Linked DNA regions of Homo sapiens: regions 1 and 2 are each linked to region 3. Evidence: promoter capture Hi-C in 16 types of primary human blood cells and fetal thymus (Javierre and others, 2016). All regions are on one chromosome and are shown on one strand. Each heading gives the region's core, a stretch centred on a gene start or on the middle of the fragment in contact. The rest is flanking DNA. Distances are from core to core; before and after follow the strand shown.

Region 1 (4,159 bases), core at 248-2,747, 200 kb after region 3:
AAACAAAAAGAGACAGGGAGGAAAGGAACCATGGGCAGCAGGGAGAAGCCCAGAGAGAGGCTCTCTGCAAGGGCTGAGTGCTAGCCTGGGAGACAGCAGATATTCTTTATTTCCAAAAACCGTTTTTCATCCACTTTGTTAAATTAAAAAGCTGTTTTTAAAGTGGTGCTGGAGGTGCTGCTGGGGGAGGGTGAACAGAACTGCCAAGTCCTCCCTCTCTGGCCTCCTCCTCCTTGGCCCCCACAGAAGCTGCCTCAGCCTGAGCCCCTGGGGTGTTCTCCAGCTCCCCTGCTCGCTGAGGCAATCCTCTGAGATCCCCAGGAAGAGGGTCAGGGCATCTGAGCTACTGTTCACTGGCAGGAAGTCCTTCCTGCTGTCTGGCCTCAGTTCTTCTTGCTGCAGGGAGCCCATTCTTTCCCCGACCACTATCCTTCTCTTCTCCAGCTCCTGTCCCGGCTCCCTAAGGTGTTCCCAGTTTGCGGAGGATTACGTGCCCTCTCAGCCCAGTAGCACACTTTCCAAATAAGCCATCAGACTCCTCCCAAGGTACCCCCCATAAATATTATCTTTTATTCTGTAAATCCATCTCCTAGCCCCATCCTAGTCTGAACTTCTATCAGATACACACCCCATGTCCTTGGGTCCTCTGGGAACAGTGGGGTGAAAAGCTTAACTCTCTACAGCCTTCTCAGGCCTCCCTTCCTCCTCTCCTGGGCCCCAGCTCCATCTTAAGCCCCTTTTATGTGTCAGCCTGGGGTACCCCACTCCACCCTCAACAACAACCTGGTCCTAGTTGTGAAGGGTTAGTCCCCCCTCAGCCCCCAGCCGGGAAAATGGCCAGTCTGTTTGGGAGCTGAGATGAAAAGCCCGGCCGGCCTTTGTGGGCCTCTGGCGGGTTTTGGACAATAGGCCCTTCCGTTCCGCTCCAGTGCCTCGATGCCTTGGATGCCCCCACCCCCAAGCTGCCAATCCAGGGGCCTTGCCTGGCCTGAATGAGAGACAGGGAGAGTCAGGCTCGGCCCCACAGCTGGCCTCAGAAGATTCTGGACTTTCTGACCTGCCATCCCATCTTTTTAAAGCCTAGCTGCTCCTCCAATCAAATAAGAGAGATGTCTGGGGGGCAGAGAGGAAATCTGAGGATACTGAAACAGAAACATACTCCCATATCTGGGACTCAGCACCCCCTTAGTATAGAACCCAGTTTCCTAACCTGGTGTTGCCCTTGCCTGTGTGACCACAGGTAAGTCTCTTCCCTTTCTATTTGAGAGCATGAAAAGCCTCAGCCAGGCTGAGCCCAAAACCTCTGGAAAAAGAAAGGACAGGGGAAGAGAGGAAGGAATCTCAGGTCCTCCTCCACTCATGTCCCCTAGACGTACAGCCCCACTACACCTGCCTGATTCCCTGAGATTGATCTGCCCCACGTGGGCCCCAGCACCTACCTCTTCACCACTGGCCACACACCAAGCACATCAATGTCCTCCTCCTCCTCCAGACCAACTCTTCAGGACTTCCAAAACCAAGGGGGCAAGATGAGGTGACAAGGCTAGAGTCTAGAAGGGCAAAGGGCACAAATCAGAGGTCACAGAGGAGCCACAGGCCTTAGTCCAACTCAGAGGCCATTCCATACTCACAGCCCCACTGTGAGAAGGGGAGACTGAGGCAGGCAGCAGCTAAACGTCTGGAAGAAGAAAAGTTGAGAGTAATACAGACCCCTCCCAGCACCCCTTGCTGACTTCAGGTTCTGAACCACAGGGACAAAGGTTGCCAGAAGGCAGTGGCCTGATACAATACACAGATACACACCCACAGACAATCCACAATTCTTATACAATCAGTTTGCAGACACACAGGCACCTCCATATCACATGCATCCTCACATGCACAATCCTAGAGGCACAGGGTCACAGGCACGGTGTAAATAACCACCATCGTAACACCCCCTTCCTTATCACCACTATGATTTATTGAGCATCTATTATATGCCAGGAACTGTGTTTGGCACTTTATATGCATTATCTTACTTAATCTTCATGATTTCTCCATGAGGTAGGTTTTATTGTTCTTCACATTTGATAACCAAGGAGATTGAGCTTCAAGGAGGCCTTGCCCAATACCACAGAGCTGATCAGTTCCAGAGTCTAGATTTGAGTCCGTATCTAGTTCCAAAACCTTGCTGCTATACCAATTTGCCTGTGCAGGTCTCTCACCCACCTGCACAATGTCTTTCCCAAGAATAATAACAGCAGGTATCACTTGTTCAGGGTCCTTGGTTACCCAGACACTGTGATAAGTACTTAATTTACATTTTGGTACTGAATCATCAAAACAAGCTTCAAGGCCAGGCATGGTGGCTCACACCTGTAATCCCAGCACTTTGGGAGGCTGAAGCAGGTGGATCACCTGAGCTTAGGAGTTCCAGACTAGCCTGGGCAACATAGTGAAACCCCATCTCTACCAAAAATACAAAAAATTAGCCAGGCGTGGTGGCATGTGCCTGTGGTTCCAGCTACTCCTGAGGCTGAGGTGGGAGGGTCACTTGAGCGTGGGAGGCGAAGGTTGCACTGAGCCAAGATTGAGCCACTGCACTCTCCAGCCTGGGTGACCAAGTGAAACCCTATGGCAAAAAAAAAAAAAAAAAAAAACACAAGCTTTGGAGGTAATCCTGTTTCTGTTTTACAGATCCTGAAACTGAGGCTCAGAGAGCAGAAGCAGCTTGGCCAAAGTCATACAACTGGTAGTTGGTAAAGGAGCTGGCCTTGAACTCAGGGATATCTTGAAAGCCACTGTTGCTTCTATGGACTCTAGCCATTCAAAAGACCCCTCACCTTCTATAAGACCCCAGGAGATCCTCAGGGTCCAACTGCTCCCTTGAAAACAGGTCCCAGATATATCTGCCAAAGGTATGATTAGGTGCCTAAACACATACCATGAGAAAGGGATTCCATGTCTTCCAATCCTGCCCAGAGATGCAGAGACACCACCACCCAGGGAGAGATAGCCAGAAACTAAAATAAGATGTTAGAGACAGGTGGTTGATAGTGACAGATACAGCCACACCAAGACAGGCTCAAAGGGAGGAAGACTGAGGGGAAGCCAGAGACAGAGAGGGACACATTAGGCCAAAGAATGAGAGAGATAGCTGGAAAAGGAGACAATAGGAGTAGAGGAGGGTACAGGCTGACATGAAAAAACACCGACAGATACACTCCAGTATGCAGACAGACACATATAGACCCATCTGACCTTCACAAGAAACAGACTGTGAAAGCAAGCAAGGCTCAGGCTGTGTGTGGTGTGCGTATGTGTGTGTGCGTATTGTGGGGGGAGCATGCAGAGTCTGTATAGCTACGCACATTACACCAGCTGCTTCCAGCAATTTCATCTGATTAATAATAAATGCCCCATAATTACAGCCGCTCCCCCAGCCCTTCTTCCTGTTTTTTGTCAGCTGCTGCCAGACCAGCCCCCCATAAACCCTATGGTCCCCTCCATCCTCACCTGCTGTCCTCTAGGAGGCTGAGAGAATGTGAGCTGGTGGAGGAGGCCATACTCCCAATTTGAGGAGGGATACCCATCTCCCTATCTTGGATTAATGCCCTTTGCTTCCAAGCAAAAAGTCGTCTTACTTAGGTCTCACTCAGAACTTTTCCACTGCATGGGTATAACCTGTGACCCCTAATATGGCCTAGGGGCCCACATCTGGGATGCAGAGAGATGAAATCCCCTTGCCCACTCTTTATCGCTAGCTGGCTAAGTCTCCATCCACAAACTTTACCTAGCCTCAGAACCCTGTAGGCTCACAGGAGGAAGGCACCAGGACAGGGGTCCTCACCCCATCATTCCAATCCCAGACAGCCCGAATCTCTGCCCACTTGTATACCCTCAAGCTCTGGACACCAGGTGGCTCCGCCTGCCAATTCCTGAGCACCCCCCAACCCCACCCCCACAAGTCCACCTCCTTCCAGGCCTCCCACCCAAGCTCGCCAAGGCAGCTCTATCAGAATCAGCTGCGGGGTTGTGCTGATCTGTTTCTAATCGTTGGGGCCTGGTTCACGCTTGCCCCCAGCCCCCAATATTGATTCCATTATTTGGAAAGTCATTGACGTCAGGGGCCTGGATGGGTGCCAAAACCGCCTTCTCTCCGGGCCTGGGCCAGGGC
Region 2 (4,520 bases), core at 396-2,895, 140 kb after region 3:
CTTCAGGGAGGAAACAGAGCTGTTCACCTTGGAGGAGAAAGCACTCTGGGGGATGAGATGCCATGGAGCAGTTATTTCCTCTGCTGTATGGTGGAGAGCTAGAGGGTGGCAGGGCCCGGCTCCATCTAAGGAAAAATGTATGAGCCAGAGTTGATCAGTGACTGAATAGTGTCTATAATGTAGTGAAGTCTCCATCCCCGGGAGTGTGCAAGCTGATTCTGAGGGAACTTCAGTGGGGTGGAATGGGAGGGGGCTATTCAACACTGAGAATTGGTGAGAGCTCAGAAACAAACATCTTGTGAGCATATTCTTGAATGCAAACCCATTTTCCCTATGGACTTTGATATAAACTGAGAAGCACTGGCTGCCCCAAGGAAAGAATGCAGCGATGAAGGCACCATTCTAAAGTCCGTCAGTCATCTCTTCCTGGAACAGATAACTACTAAGGGCCAACGATGGTGCCCAGCTCTAGGCTGGACCCTGGTGGCTTAGATACCTGCTCTTGTGGAGCTTATGTTCTAGTGAAGGGAAAGATACAAAAAGCAACAACAAAATTCCCAGTGTTCTAGGCAGAGAATTATTAATAAAAGACTGTGATATGTAAACATAAATGTTCATGGCAGCATTACTCATAACAGTCAGAGTGGCAACAACCCAGTGTCCATCAACTGCTGAATAGATAAACAAAATATAGTCTCTCCTTGGGGATTATGTCAGCAAGGACAAGGAATGATGTGCTGATACATGCTACAACATGGAGGAACCTTGACAACATGCTTAGCGTAAAAAGCCAGTCACAAAAGACCACATACTGTATAATTCCACTTCTATAATACATCCAAAACAGGCAAATTTGTAGAGATGGAAAGTCAATTTGTGTGGCCTAGGGTGGTGAAAATGTTCTAAAATCGGTTGTAGAGAAGGTTGCATAACTGTGAATATACTAACACCAAGAATTTGATGCTTTAAATGAGTGAATTTTATAGTATATGAATTATATCTCAATAAAGTTGTTACATTAAAAGAAGAAAGATAGGTTCACAAAGGCCAGGCAATGAAAAAGAAAAAAAGAAAAAGAAAAAATAAAAGGACTGGGTGGTCTGTTGGATACAGTGGTCAGGAAAGGCTTCTTTGAAGAGGTGACACGCACGCTGAGAGTTGACTGGCAAGAAGGAGGCAGCCATGTGGAGATAGGGCAGGGGAGCAGCCCATGGTGAGGGAGCAGCTGGGGCAGATGCCCTGAGGTGGGAACCAGCTTGGGGTTTAAGGAACAGGAAGGCAAGTGTGGTTGGGGTAGAGTAAGCAAGGGGCGAGAACATGAGGTGAGAGTGGGGAGGTGGGCTAGAGTGTGGGATCTGGATTTTATTTATAGTGCCAAGGGAGACTGTGGGAGGATTTTAAGTGCTTTAAAGGTAAGCCTACTGCCATATGGAGGATGGATTGTAACAAGGCAAGAGTGGAAGCGGGGAGACCAGTTAAGAGGCTGCCACAGTTGTCCAGGTGAGAGTTGGTAGTGGTTTGGTCTGAGGGTGTGGTGAAGGTAGCATCCAACATGGAATGAGCACTGGTATGTCAAGCACTGTCCTTGCACTTTACATATATTAACTGGTGTAAGCCCTGGCTCTGCCACTTACTAGCAGGTTAGCCTCTAAGAGCCTCTAACTCCTCCGTTATAAAATAAAGATAATGACAGAACCACCTTACAGAGTGGTTGTGAAGAGCATAATGAGGTGATGCAACCGTATGATGTGCTTGCCCAGAGTCTAGTACATAGTGAGTGCTCAACAAATGGTAGCTGCTATTTTCTTTTCTTTTCTTTTTTTTTTTTTTTGAGACAAGATCTCACTCTTGCCCAGGCTGGAGTACAGTGGCTCCATCTTGGCTCACTGTAACCTCCGCCTCCCAGGTTCAAGTGATTCTCCCATCTCAGCCTCCCTAGTAGCTGGGACTACAGGCATGCACCACCACGCCCATCTAATTTTTTGTATTTTTGGTAGAGACAGGGTTTCACCATGTTGGCCAGCCTGGTCTCAAACTCCTGACCTCAAGTGATTCACCCACCTTGGCCTCCCAAAGTGCTGGGATTACAGGCGTCAGTGAGCCACCACGCCCAGCCTATAGCTGCTATTATTAATTCTCCATAGATTTAAAATTTCTCCTAAACTTTTTAATTCTCACTCTTTCAACCATAGGAAAAACACAGAGACACAAAATTCCCCCTCCCTCCACCTCCAGCTCCAGTGTGCTAGCCATTAGCCTTCTACAGTCTTTCCCCAGGAAGTCCAGGGACTCATTCCTCTGAGGTGGAAGACAGGCCTCATTACCCCTGAGTGTGCTGACACCGACCTCTCCACAGGCCCACATATTTGACTTAGCCATCAACAAGTATGAGGCCATCTGCAACCAGCCTGTGGCGGCCAAAAAGAACAGGCTCACCCACGTGCAGTTCAATCTCATCCACCCCATCATCATTGTGGGCGATGACCGTGGGCACATCATCAGCCTCAAGCTCTCACCCAATTTGCGCAAGATGCCAAAGGTACAGGCTCTGGGACTTTGAGCTGCTGCAAGACGTAAAGTCTCCAGGAGGGTGGGGATGACAGAAGGGAGAAGCCAGGGTGACCACCCAGTTTCTGATGTGGGAGACCCAGGGTAAGGATGGTGTCATTGCCTGAATGAGGCTCACAGTAGAAGCAGGTTTGTGAGAAAACAGCAGTTTGACATGCTGCATTTGAGTTACCTGTGGGGCCCCAGGTGACTTTCCCAGGTGGAGACATCCAATGAGCAGGTGGATCTGAAGCCTGCAGAGGCAAATGTGGAGGTATCATTGATTTCTTCCCAGTGGAAATGCTGTGGGTAGGACAGGTCACCCAGGCAGGGGGCCTGGGGCTGAGCCACTGCCTCATTGACTGGGCTTTCACAGGGCTTCAGCCCCAGTGGTCCCTGAGCTGGGAGCTGTGGGTCTACACAGAGAGGAAGGAAATGAGCCGCAAGGAGAGTAACTAGGTCAGCAGCTATGCAGCCCTCCTTCTGAGCTCTGGTTCCTGTTTCTAGGGTCTCCAATGATCAGGAGACCCTGCCCAGAGGCCAAGGGCCCCAAATACAGGTCTGGAGCCCAGAGCGATGACCTTAAAGTCTAGATCTGAGTCCAGATCCAGACTTATGAACCCAGGCTTTGCAGCCCGGGCCTTGGAATCCTGAGCCCAAGAACCCAGAGCCCAGTCCTGCCCATTTGTGTGCTAAGAGTAGAGATGGCTCTTTGCTTTCTGCCAGGTTCTGGGCCAGGATCAGGACTGGGCCAGCTTGCCCTAATGACCATCCCTCCTGGCAATTTGAGGCATTTACTGCAGTTTGAGGCAGTGGCAGGGGCCTGTGTCTTTCGACTACTGTCTTCCCTGCACTGTGCTCCTACCAAGGAAGGGACTGCGGCACCATCCCTCTGGTGCTGGCTTGGCCTGTTCCCCACCATGGCCAGGGAGGCAAGGGCTGGGAGTGTGGCTGGCCCTGTAATTGTAGCCAGCTGGGGGAGAGGGTGGACTTGGCTATAAATACTCAAAAGGCTGCTAAGCGCCTGCAGCTGTGGCCCAGAGGCTGTGGTGGGCTTGAGGGGAGGGAGGGAGTCGGGCGTGGTCTGAATCTCTTTGCTGAGCCCAGCTAGTTGGCCTCAAGGAGGAGGAAGGAGGAAGCATAATTTGTGGAATAGATAAAATGTGTTCTTAATTTTCTGAGGAGAGAGACCCAGGTTGAAGCTGGCAGAGTTGGACAACCCTCCAGGAGGGATGATGGTCATTCTTTGGGGGAGGAGTACAGCCATGACACCATGAGGGTGGTAGACATGGGTGGGAGCCTGCCCTGCCCACTCTGATCCAGGGAGGTAAGCATCTCCCATAGTTTCAGTTCCCCTCAGAGAAGGGTCAGACATGGGTGGGAGCCTGCCCTGCCCACTCTGATCCAGGGAGGTAAGCATCTCCCATAGTTTCAGTTCCCCTCAGAGAAGGGTCAGACATGGGTGGGAGCCTGCCCTGCCCACTCTGATCCAGGGAGGTAAGCATCTCCCATAGTTTCAGTTCCCCTCAGAGAAGGGTCAGTCATGGCTGGGAGAGCTGGGCTGTGTGTATCTGGGGACCTACGTCTCTGAGGACCTGAGAAGGGACAGGTGGGGGCTGGTGGGTACTTGAGTGGATTAGAGGTTCCCGTGAAATTGCCATCTGACCCTATCAGCCAAGTGATTCATGCAAAACAAAATCCTCTGGGCATCCCTACTGCCCTTCCTCTGTGAGCTGCAGACTCCCTGCCCTTTCCAAATGGCTTCCCCACAGAGGTCTGGACCTCCCTGCCCAGGGAGCTCCCATGATGGGTGTCAAGAGCCCAAAGAGTCCAAGGCCAAAGACTGTCTTTCCCTAACTACAGGATAGATGGGAAACTGAAGCTCAGAAAGGCAAAGGCCTTGCCCAAAGTCATATAGGGAGTTAATGACAGAGCTGGAACTAAAACCAGGTCCCCTAACTCCCAGGGGATGG
Region 3 (4,351 bases), core at 1,340-3,839:
GAGAGCTGCTCATTGCTTCCATGATGAAATTTAAAAGTGTTTGCTTTGCACTGGAGGCTCCAGGCATGATGTGTTCTCAGCTACCATTCTGATTCCATTTCCAGCCAAGCCTATCTTGTGATTACCAAGCTCGTTCCTTCCCCAACCTAAATCCTTTAGGCCACCTGCTTCAGGAGATTTCACCCACCTAGCTTGGCCCAGCGCACCTCCTCCACCTACCTGCTCTCCAGGGATCAGACACCCACCACTACCACTAACACACATAAACTCTGACACACTATATGCTAAATATCCAGATATGAGGCCATGCACGGTGCTCATGCCTGTAATCCTAGCACTTTGGGAGGCCAAGGAGGGCAGATCTCTTGAGCTCAGGAGTTTGAGACCAGCCTGGGCAACATGTTGAAACCCTGTCTCTACCAAAAATACAAAAAAAAAAAAAAATTAGCCAGGCATGGTGGTGTGCACCTGTAGTCCCAGCTACTTGGGGGGCTGAGGTGGGAGGGTCGCTTGAGCCCAGGAGGTCAAGGCTGCAGTGAGCCAAGATTGTGCCACTGCACTCCAGCCTAGGTGACAAAGTGAGACCCTATCTCAAAAAAAAAAAAAAAATACAGATATGACTACAGGGAAACACAGGCTCAGGGGAAGAGGTGTGTCCTACTCTGCCACTCAAGGCCACTGACCGTTCCTGTCCCAGGCTTCAGAGCAGAGTCCAACAAAGAAATAGCACCACCCAGGTGCACACACGGGCATACACACAGCCAGCCAGTTGGTTGCCCAACTGCTCCAGCTCGGGGGAAGAAGAGAAGGAGACTAGCAAACAGTAATTAGCCTCCTCCCAGATGCCAGTGTCTGTCTCTAAGTCCCCAGGGACTTCCAAGGAGATGCCGGAAATACTCAGGTTTTTCACCTCCCCCATGCAAGAATGCAAGGTGTGGAGCAGAATTTGATCCTAAATGTCAATACACAGCTCCTCCCATAGGCACTTCCCACACGGTGCTAGCTCAGGGCCTCATTCTCAGTGCCCTCTGCCCCCAGCTGCCTAAGCTTGTCAGCCCTAGCTGGTCTGGAACAGACTCTTATTCCCTTTCTCTCAGTCTACAATGACTTAGCTTTCCTCCCCATTCCTATATAGATACAGCTTAGAAAACACCTCCTGGAAAATGCAGCCAGTGGCCTTTAGGTGATGCCCTCAAGCTGAGCAGAACCCAAAGAAGGCTTTAGGTGGCTCAGATCACACCTGTGAGTTTATATTCATTCATTCAAGATAACCAAAGCCCTATTCTGGGCACCAAGGAAATAAGGAGAGAGAGGGTCAGTATCTGAAGAGGAGAGAGACTTCCTCATCCTCAAAACTTTCATATGAAGTCAGCCTATCTCATGAGCCCTGGAGGCAGGAAGAGGCCACCAAGGTGGATTCAAAAGCCCTTTCCGACAGTTATGTTTTGAGAATCTTAATTTTCTGGGATCTGAAGTTCTTTGATGAAAGACAGAAGCCCACAGGCCTGGGCACCCACCCACCCCAGGCACCATGATAGTGTCCCAAATGTCACCACAGCATCCAGTTCTATCAACAATGTGGAACAGCAGACATAGCTGCAGTGTCCATTTTACAGGTGAGGAAACGTGGCCCAAACAGAAAAAGGAACTTGTCTGAAGTTAGCCAGGTATCAAGGCTGCCTGGATCTAAAATCCCAGCCCAGCTCTCCACAGTGTAAGTTTTAGGAGATGGGAGATAATGATCTGACCTGGCTGCCTGAATGCAGTAGCAGAAAGGAGCCCTGGGGCTGAGCTGGTGGGACCAGCTTCCATCAGATGGACATGGCATGGTGAGGCCTGTCTTTCCAAGGGCTGGTGCTGCTGCTTGCTCCACGCGGACCACGAAGACCACGAGGGCAGCAAAGAGGGCAATTTTAATGGCATCTGGTACCGGGGCTTTGGGGGAGGAAGTCTGTGGTTCCGGTGTTAACAGTGGTGCCAGAGACCTCTGTAATCTGCCGCCTCCGCCAGGTGGAGTCTGGGCTCTGCCCCTGCTGAGCCTCTCCCCACCGGACACTCAACCTCAGCCTTGGCTGCCACAGCTAGTCTGGTCTGAGGGGGAGGGCCCCGCCCGACTCAACTGAGGGGAGGCCATTCCAAGTAGAATCGTTAGTTGGACACAGTTCCCGGGGGGATGGAAATGTCAAAGGCAACTCGATCCGGCCCATCTCCCTCTCCTGCCAGGCGACGGTATCCGCGGGGATCGAGTGACTGCCTACATAGCCTGGAATACTCCACAGCCGCCCTCCCTACCCCGCCCTGAAGGCTATACTGTCCGAAGGGGCCGACCGAGGTCAAGGGACCTGTCGCCCCGCGGGAATCGCGGCCGTGGGATGGGCCCAGGTGTTCAGGCTCGCTCCACCCATTCATCGGTGGGAGCGAAAGTTCAGGAATCGTGCTCCTTCAGCAGCCCCCCGCCCCCCACAGCCCTCCCGCTGGGCTCACCCATTGCAGTTACAGCCCGGCAGAAGCGGGGGTGAAAGAGCTTCCCGCCGATCCCCTGCGCTTGAACCAGAGTGAAGCTGCCGCCGCGCCGCGCGGGGCTCTGTCTGGCAGGGCACAGCCCCTCCTCGGGTCCCGCCCTGGGGTTCCTCGGCCACGCCCCAGTCATCCAGTCTCGTCTCGGGCCTCAGAGTCCAGCCCTGCCCTTGACGTTCGACCCCTCCTCCCAGGTTATCAGGCGGATCTGTGGCCCCGCCCCTCAGCCCCACCTTCCTCCCACCGCTCTGTGCTCTGCCCCTGGCATTTCAGGCTTGCTCAGTCCTGCGCCCCGCGGCTCCGACTCCCGCCGGCGGGCCCGCCCCTCCTGGGCCACTGCTAACCCGCAAGCGGGCGGGGCTCGGCCCCAGGCCTGCTGGGACATGTAGTTCTGCAGAAAGGAGCAGCTGCGGAAGGTTGGGGTTCTTGCACCTCTAGGCTAGGTTTGGAATGAGGATGAGAGGGAGAGAGCTGCAGGGTAAAGGAGCAGAGCTGGCCATTGGAATTCCTTCCTTCCCGGTTTGGACAGGTGGAGGCCATATCGGTATAACGCTCTCACAAGCCCTCAGCTTTCCATACGGAAAAGTGGTGGCGGAATTCCGCGAGTATCTCAGCTCCCAATGCAGGTGCTTCCAATCGAGGGCCCCACGGAGGGAGCTGTAGTTCCAACCCGCCGCGAGTCCAAGCTGTCGGTTCCCACCGGACCAAACCAGCGGTGTCCGAGGTCAGGGACTGAGAAGACCGGTTTCTGCTCGGTGTTTTGCAACGTCACCCGCCTCCCAGACCGCTACCCCCAGACTAGTTATTTATAGGGTCCAGCCCCTCCTCCTAAGTTACAGCCTTTAGTTAGAAATGCCCAAGCTGCGGGAAAGTGGGTGTGCCCCGCCATGCCCCTCTCCCCGGGGGCTGGGCAAGACTCTGAGGTTTCATTTCTTTTTTATTTTATTTTATTTTTATATTTATTTATTTTTGAGTTTCGTTCTTGTTGCCCAGGCTGGAGTACAATGGCACGATCTCAGCTCACTGCAAACTCCGCCTCCCGGGTTCAAGCAATTCTCCTGCCTCAGCCTCCCAAGTAGCTGGGATTACAGGCACGCACCACCGCGCCTGGCTAATTTTGTATTTTTAGTAGAGACAGAGTTTCACCATGTTGGTCAGGCTGGTCTCAAACTCCTGACCTCAGGTGATCTACCTGCCTCGGCCTCCCAAAGTGCTGGGATTACAAGTGTGGGCCACCGCGTCCGGTCTTTATTTTTTTGAGAGAGGGTCTCGCTCTGTCGCCCAGGCTGGAGTGCAGTGGCGTTAACATAGCTCACTGCAGCCTCAATGTCCTTGGTTCAAGCTATCCCCTCCCGCCTCAGGCTCCTGAGTAACTTGGACCACATGTGTGTGCCACCATACCCTGCTAATTTTTAAATTTTTTTGTAGAGAAGGGGTCTCTTTATGTTGCCCCAGCTGGTATCGAATTCCTGGGCTCAAGTGATCCTCCTGCCTCTGCCTCCCAAAGTGGTGAGATTACAGGTGTGAGCCTCTGCACCCAGCTGGTTTCATATCTATTTGATGCAGAAATAAAAATACTGAAGATCACAGAGATTTTAGAATGGCCCCTTCTCGCTCCCTGAGGGGCAGAGAAACAGGGCTTTGTTTTGCAACTTGAAATTTCTTTGTCATGAGACCCTCCAAAATTATGTTTTGACCAGTTGGACTTGGAATGGGGGACACACCTTGTGCAGCAAGGGTGTCTGAGCACAGAGAGGCTTTTGGGAGGCTGTGATGGGGACTCCTGGAAGCAGAGATCAAGAGCTTTGGGTGTAGGGATAGGTCTTTGACTGTG

The links. The method cuts DNA at HindIII sites, captures the fragments that hold promoters and counts their contacts. A CHiCAGO score of 5 or more calls a contact.
Region 1: a fragment that was not itself captured here is called in contact with the fragment with the promoter of MYORG in region 3 in 1 of 17 cell types (endothelial precursors); the score reaches 6.9 in endothelial precursors.
Region 2: a contact is called between a fragment that was not itself captured here and the fragment with the promoter of MYORG in region 3, in 1 of 17 cell types (endothelial precursors). The highest score is 5.2, in endothelial precursors.

What each region holds. Positions count from the first base shown.
Region 1 is chr9:34,579,656-34,583,814 of GRCh38, forward strand. It overlaps CNTFR (ciliary neurotrophic factor receptor), which reads right to left. Exons shown (of 10, transcript NM_147164.3): 2 at 1,440-1,550. It overlaps CNTFR-AS1 (CNTFR antisense RNA 1), which reads left to right. Exons shown (of 2, transcript NR_024369.1): 2 at 2,680-3,417. Among named protein-coding and RNA genes, the nearest start is that of CNTFR, 8.0 kb to the right of the region's middle. The HindIII fragment of the contact is 1,662 bases long and covers 667-2,328 here.
Region 2 is chr9:34,514,929-34,519,448 of GRCh38, forward strand. DNAI1 (dynein axonemal intermediate chain 1) reads left to right here. Exons shown (of 20, transcript NM_012144.4): 19 at 2,357-2,539. Among named protein-coding and RNA genes, the nearest start is that of ENHO, 5.8 kb to the right of the region's middle. The HindIII fragment of the contact is 5,796 bases long and covers 1-4,520 here.
Region 3 is chr9:34,374,309-34,378,659 of GRCh38, forward strand. MYORG (myogenesis regulating glycosidase) reads right to left here and starts at 2,590. Exons shown (of 2, transcript NM_020702.5): 1 at 2,485-2,590. RefSeq lists enhancers at 1,357-1,938, 1,939-2,519 and a silencer at 2,565-2,954. The HindIII fragment of the contact is 6,785 bases long and covers 1,046-4,351 here.